2 separate regions of the Homo sapiens genome follow, and region 1 is linked to region 2. Evidence: promoter capture Hi-C in 16 types of primary human blood cells and fetal thymus (Javierre and others, 2016). All regions are on one chromosome and are shown on one strand. Each heading gives the region's core, a stretch centred on a gene start or on the middle of the fragment in contact. The rest is flanking DNA. Distances are from core to core; before and after follow the strand shown. Region 1 holds the start of PPP2R1B (protein phosphatase 2 scaffold subunit Abeta). Region 2 holds the start of NPAT (nuclear protein, coactivator of histone transcription).

Region 1 (3,249 bases), core at 223-2,722, 3.5 Mb after region 2:
AACAACAGGACTCATCAACATGGATAGCTCTCCCACAGCTGGACACTGACACAAAACTAGGAACAGATTCACTATGCGACCAGGAAGGTGACCCAGTCAAAATCCTAACAGCATTTTCTTTCTTCTCAACCGTCTTCCTGTATCTGCTTTGCACAACGAATTAGAAATTCATACTCCCGTATCAATTACTTTCAATAGCTAAATGGTTGATGTTTGAATATATCTAGCCACAACTAACAATATACTCTGTTCTGTTTCTTTTGCACAAAAAACACCTGGCTCATTTTAATGTGGGTAATAAACTCTAAAAAAGTCAGTGTTGAAAGCTACTGGAAAATGGAATGTCCCTACCTTTCTTTAAACAAAGATTCACATACCTGTAAGAAATGGCAACAATTCACTTCGGGTCCTTTCTACTCCAAGTGCTAGGGCAATTGTTGATAACTTCTTAATACTGTTGAGTCGGAGCTTCAGAAAAGAAAGTAGAAAGAAGAACAATGTAAAGAAACGGCTGAATTTAGATCAAAAGACAAAAGGTGCTAACAGGTGAAATTATGACACAGGGGTAAGAATGAAGATAACCTTTCATTTAGATTTTACTGTTAAGGAAGCTCATAAGGACTTCCAAAAAGAAGTGTAACTCGGCCTCACTAGCCGGCGGAGGATTTCCCAGGAGAAACACTCAGAAGGGACCGGAAGAGAAATGAAGGAAAGACAATACAACACCTAGGAAGTAAGATAATTTTAAAAAGAGAGCACTTTGGCAGTGGTGAAGCAGGTGAAACGGTTGAATACAACACCTGTGGTTTCAAAGAAAAGTTCCCACAGAGCGGATACACTACTCGTCCAGATTAATCGGCCATCCCACCCCCGCTTTCTACCCAACAAGCCGAGCCAGTTCCAAGCCGAGATGAAGGGATCCAGGGGCACTTCAAAGGGCTTCTGGGCATCCTGCGCCCCTCAGCCGCTCCAGCCCCGTCTCGGCCTGGCACCGCGCTTCTCCTGCTCCCTCGCCCAAGAGACGCGGCCACCTCACGGCCCGGATGGGGCGCCCAGGCGGGAAGCGGGTTCCCCGACAACCGCCCGGGAAGGGCAAGGCTCCGGGCGGACGCCTCAGGGGGTCCGAAGCAAGGTTACTAGAGAGGTACCCGGGAGGGTCGGGGCGTGTCACCACAGCCCCTCGCGGAGCATTCCCCGCCTCCCCTTCAAGTTTCTGCTACGAGTCCGACTCATTCAGTACCTCGGCCACCCCCACCGCGACGCAGGCCTTCCCCCTTCTCTACCACGCGACCAGCCGGTCTCGCCTCGGGTCCCCGGCCTCAGTCCAGTACCTGCACGTCTTCATTGCGGAGCTCGTCGATTAAAACCGCGATCGGGTATAGCGAATCATCTCCATCTCCACCCGCTGCTCCTGGGCCGGTCCCGAGCTCTGATGCGCCCGCCATGTTCTTTCTCCTCCTGCTGCTGGTCACCGCCTCCCGCCCCGCGCCCAGGCCCCGCCCCGCGCCCAGGCAGTAGGGACGAAGGCCGCCACGCTGGTTTAGCCGAAGTTGGGGAGCCGCGTTTCTGTCCCGATGATTAAGGCTCCCTTCTGACCCCCACTGCAGGAGTTGTAGGTCTGAACTCAAGAAGACGGGTGGGCTAAGAAAGCGAATGGAACCCCTGCGTCCTTTCCCCAGCCGAAAGAAACAGGGACAGGGATTCATCCAGCTCGTTGTAGTCTGAAGGAGCCAGGAACCTACCTGAATGATCTGCGCTGTGCCCTCTTAAGACTCAGGCGGACCAAAGAGAGTGCCCGAGGCCAGGAGGAAAAAGGCTTTAGCACCTCCCCTGACTTCTTCCTGGCCCTGAGCCACTGGATCTCCAGCCCTAATTTCTCCGCTCAGACTCAAACTTCCACAGAACCCCTCCACCTCTTCCCGCGGCTCTTTCTCCAGAATGGTATCTGGCTCCTGCTCCGTAAGACAAATAACGCGGGCGGTGAGAGAAAATGAACAGTGCTGTCCAAACTCCCCAGTCAATATTTTTTCCACGCAAGCTGTTAAAAACATGCTGCTCTCTTGTTTTTGTGTTTCTTTTCAGTTTGGTACTGGAATGGTGCCTTCTGTTGTATTTTCTTCCTCCCATTTTTTAGCTCTTTAGCATGCTAGAAGTACAACAATGAAGCAAAACTAGGACAAGCTTTAATCCTTCCAAATTGGGTGGGGTGGCTACTTTCTTGAGCAAGAAAACCCAAACTGGCCTCCCTAGACCTCCAAGAGTCCTCAGAGGCAGCAAGGGGAAGAGGTGGAGGTCTGGGAGCTCGTTCTTACAAACCTGAATGGAAAGTTTTCACTTACCCCTGTCAGGGTAGCACAGAATAATTAGAATGTTTTGTTTGTTTTAGACTGGAATTTAAGCAGCTTGGAGTGATAACTACATATGGTGATCACAAGCTCCGAAATGGTAATTCTATGTGCCTGATTAATAAAACTATAAATGCAGTGTAGGAGACAAACTTTTTTAAAACATGGGATTCTGAGGCCGAGGCGGGCGGATCACTTGAGGCCAGGAGTTCGAGACCAGCCTGGCCAACTTGGTGAAACCCTGTCTCCACTAAAAAATACAAAAATTAGCTGGGCTGGTGACGGGAGCCTGTAGTCCCAGCTACTCGGGAGGCTGACATGAGAATCGCTTGAGCCCGGGAGGCAGAGGTTGCAGTGAGCCAGGATCGCACCACTGTACTCCAATCTGGGCGGCAGAGTGAGACCCCGTCTCTAAAATAAATAAATAAATAAATAGCGTTCTTGGAAGTAAGCACAATAGAGCCTTTGAATGAATGAATGAAATAATGAATAAATAAATAAATAAATAAATAAATAAATAAATAAATAAATGGGGTTCTTGGAAGTAAGCACAATAGCTAGAGCCTTTGATAGTAATGAAAGTTTGGGAACCAGCAGACCTGAACAGTTTTTCTCAAATTATGTCTGCGAATGTATTCTCTAGGGTTTTAATTTTATTTTCATTTTCATATTTTTTAGATTTGTATAAGCATATTCTGAATTATTTGGGTGACCACCTTACAACCAAGTATTGCCACACAATTTCAGCACCCACATTTACATGTGTGTTTTAGTGCTGCTTTTATTGTTCTGGGATAATGAGAAAAGAACAGAGGTGGTTTTAAAATGACAATGATACTTTCATGCACAAAATGAAAGCCAAATGCATCATGAGATTGCACTATTTGGTAGTTGTAACAGAAAA
Region 2 (3,608 bases), core at 1,109-3,608:
GGTAGGTGAAGAACAGCAACTAAGTGGAATTCATTGTTCTTTGAATAAATTTGACTTGTGAAAGGGTGACACAGAACATAAGACAGAATGTTCTGTTTAATGGGTGTCTAATGTCTAGTGGGGTCCAGAAAAGTGTTTTTTTGTGTGTATGTTTAAGAATTTAAAAAAAACCTAATTATCTGAACACTAAGGGGAGAAAACTTAACTTCTCTATGTTCAGCAATTGGCACAGTGTTTGGAACATACTAGGCACCCAAAGATTTGCTAGAAAAAAAACATTATGAAGGGACCAATAACAAGAGGAGCTGAAGATGGCGAGGGGGTACTGATAGGAAAAGAATCATGAGTAAATAATAAACCTCATATGAGAAAGATATACACGATATGTATCTATTTAAGATGTAAAATGATAAACGACAAAAGTAAGAGCATTAGGCATGGGGAGGCTTTTTTGTATTGTATACTCCTGCCCATCTGAAATTTTTAGTAAGAATAGAATTATCTCAACTTTCAGACTAAAAGGTATAGTGTGAAAGCTTCAGGGAGATTTGTAACAACAGTAAATAAAATGAATTGCGAGGACAACTGTCTGGGAAGCCATGACAGAAGTCCAAAAGAGAAGTAATGGCAGGCACATTGCGGGATTGGTGGCAGTGAAAATGGAATGTGAATGACAAAGATTTTTAAGATAAGAAAACCATGGCTGGCGTTTTTTGTCCATTAAATGAAAAGCAGGAAGTCAGCAGAGTAGCTGGTTTGTGGAGAAAGAATACTCACACATCGATGTGAATTATTTCAATTAGAAAATGATACTGCTTTCTTAGGGCTTTCTTAACTAGGGGTGATTCTGCCCTCCAGGGGACATACTAGCAATATCTAGAGACATTTTCACTGATCACAACTGGGTAAGGGTAGGGTGGGGAACGGGTGTCCTACTGTAATCTAGTGAATAGAAGCCAGGAATGCTGCTAAACATCCTACAATGTTTGAGCACAGGATAGCTCCCCACAATAAAGAATTATGAGGCCCAAAATGTTAACAGTACTGAGGCTGAGAAACCATGTTTAAGACTATAGTTACCGAAACTCAACTAGATTACCAAACTGCCAAAACTCAGAATTCTTAAGCAAAAGATTAATCAGACATTAACAAAACATTAAACTTGTCATTAAGTTTCTTCAAAAATGGATGGTGGAACCATTTCCGTTTAACGTTTCCTGCAAAATGTGCTTATCAAGAGCCCTGCGCAAATAACATTTTTGTGGACAGCGCTGGGCATTTAAAAGAGGCACAAGACAAATGGGTTTTCCGAACAATAAAATAATAGTAGTAATGGCTGTGAATACTATGGGAGGTTTCATCACAGATGCTTGCCATTTACTTTTAGGGACGTCGCATACGACGTCCGTAAATTACTGGCTCGGGTTTTGAGCTTTACCTGGCTCTCGTCCCCTGTAGTACAATCCTCTTTATTCTTTCAGGGGACAAACAACAACAAAACCCGTCTCTCACACAGACAATACACCCTGACAGACAAGTGACCCACAAACAATCCCTCCTCAAATGAAGGTAAAACTAGGGCTAGAAAACGTTCAACTAATTTAAGGCAATTAACCCTCTGAAATTTTTCGCTGATCAAAGGAACAGGAATTGCTGTTTTAAAATATGCAACTGGCATTTCACACCTCTACACTGGACGACGTATTGCGTGGAGGATGGAGAAGGAAGATCACCCCTACTCCCAAATTCGTAGTTATAAGGGCGGGTTATTAGAAGGGCGCCAGGAAGGTCTCTCTACAAAGATGGGGGGCCGGGGAACTCCCTATTTGCCCTATTTTGGTCCCAACACTGAACCAAGGAAATTGCGCCCAAGGTTGAAGCACACGCAATCCGTCCGTCATGCAGACAAATGCTCTTTCAGGGGTCCTAATTAAGTGTGGAGGCCTGACTTTCCTTCCGAATCCGCCCCAGGTGTTCCACCCCGAGCTTCCCCTCGGGCTTCCCCTCGCCACGCAGCCTCTGAAGAGAGGAGCATCTACATACAAAGAGGCTTAAACTGCCCAGAACCTCCGAATGACGAAGAATCACCGCCAGTCTCAACTCGTAAGCTGGGAGGCAAAACCCCAAAGCTTCCCTACCAAGGGAAAACCTTTGGCCTCAAAGGTCCTTCTGTCCAGCATAGCCGGGTCCAATAACCCTCCATCCCGCGTCCGCGCTTACCCAATACAAGCCGGGCTACGTCCGAGGGTAACAACATGATCAAAACCACAGCAGGAACCACAATAAGGAACAAGACTCAGGTTAAAGCAAACACAGCGACAGCTCCTGCGCCGCATCTCCTGGTTCCAGTGGCGGCACTGAACTCGCGGCAATTTGTCCCGCCTCTTTCGCTTCACGGCAGCCAATCGCTTCCGCCAGAGAAAGAAAGGCGCCGAAATGAAACCCGCCTCCGTTCGCCTTCGGAACTGTCGTCACTTCCGTCCTCAGACTTGGAGGGGCGGGGATGAGGAGGGCGGGGAGGACGACGAGGGCGAAGAGGGTGGGTGAGAGCCCCGGAGCCCGAGCCGAAGGGCGAGCCGCAAACGCTAAGTCGCTGGCCATTGGTGGACATGGCGCAGGCGCGTTTGCTCCGACGGGCCGAATGTTTTGGGGCAGTGTTTTGAGCGCGGAGACCGCGTGATACTGGATGCGCATGGGCATACCGTGCTCTGCGGCTGCTTGGCGTTGCTTCTTCCTCCAGAAGTGGGCGCTGGGCAGTCACGCAGGGTTTGAACCGGAAGCGGGAGTAGGTAGCTGCGTGGCTAACGGAGAAAAGAAGCCGTGGCCGCGGGAGGAGGCGAGAGGAGTCGGGATCTGCGCTGCAGCCACCGCCGCGGTTGATACTACTTTGACCTTCCGAGTGCAGTGGTAGGGGCGCGGAGGCAACGCAGCGGCTTCTGCGCTGGGAAATTCAGTCGTGTGCGACCCAGTCTGTCCTCTCCCCAGACCGCCAATCTCATGCACCCCTCCAGAGTGGCCCTTGACTCCTCCCTCTCCTCACTCCATCTTTCCTGGCCTCTCTCCGGGTGCTTAGCGGACTTGGCCAATAACCTCCTCCTTTTAAACGCCCTGAATTGAACCCTGCCTCCTGCGCATCCTCTTTTTGTGTCACCTTAGGGTTCAGATTTAACTACGCGACTTGACTAGTCATCTTTTGATCTCTCTCTCGTATTTAGTACTTTTAGTCAGCGAGCATTTATTGATATTTCAACTTCAGCCTCGCGGTTAAGAGCTTGGGCTCTGGAATCATACGGCTGGAATTGGAATTCTGTCAGTCGTGTGGCCGCTCTCTACTGTCTTGTGAAGATAAGTGAGATAATCTTGACCTGTGGTGAGCACTCGTGAGCGTTAGCTGCTGTATTTACCAGGTACAGATAAGACAACTACAGTGGATGATAATGTATGTGGTGATAGGGGAGTACTCTGATGGTAGAGGAGTGACTTTGGTTCTCTGCAAACTCAGCCTGAGACTATCAATTCAGTTTGTGGTGAGACCTCGCAGTGTTACCTTGGCAGATGGTAGAAGCCTTCCAGATGGAAGGAAAAATGCGTGTAAAGGCACAAAGTGT

Evidence for each region. Contacts are between HindIII fragments. The CHiCAGO score rates a contact against its expected background, and 5 or more counts as called.
Region 1: a contact is called between the fragment with the promoter of PPP2R1B here and the fragment with the promoter of NPAT in region 2, in 2 of 17 cell types (monocytes and total B cells). The highest score is 9.1, in monocytes.

What each region holds. Positions count from the first base shown.
Region 1 is chr11:111,764,917-111,768,165 of GRCh38, forward strand. It overlaps PPP2R1B (protein phosphatase 2 scaffold subunit Abeta), which reads right to left and starts at 1,473. Exons shown (of 15, transcript NM_002716.5): 1 at 1,332-1,473; 2 at 378-468. The coding sequence starts at 1,445. It also overlaps a transcript of ALG9 not described here. RefSeq lists enhancers at 499-1,402, 1,289-1,468, 1,489-1,538. The HindIII fragment of the contact is 3,920 bases long and covers 1-2,179 here.
Region 2 is chr11:108,220,280-108,223,887 of GRCh38, forward strand. It overlaps NPAT (nuclear protein, coactivator of histone transcription), which reads right to left and starts at 2,359. Exons shown (of 18, transcript NM_002519.3): 1 at 2,221-2,359. The coding sequence starts at 2,257. ATM (ATM serine/threonine kinase) reads left to right here and starts at 2,788. Exons shown (of 63, transcript NM_000051.4): 1 at 2,788-2,907. RefSeq lists enhancers at 2,255-2,314, 2,725-2,884, 3,195-3,274. The HindIII fragment of the contact is 4,203 bases long and covers 2,128-3,608 here.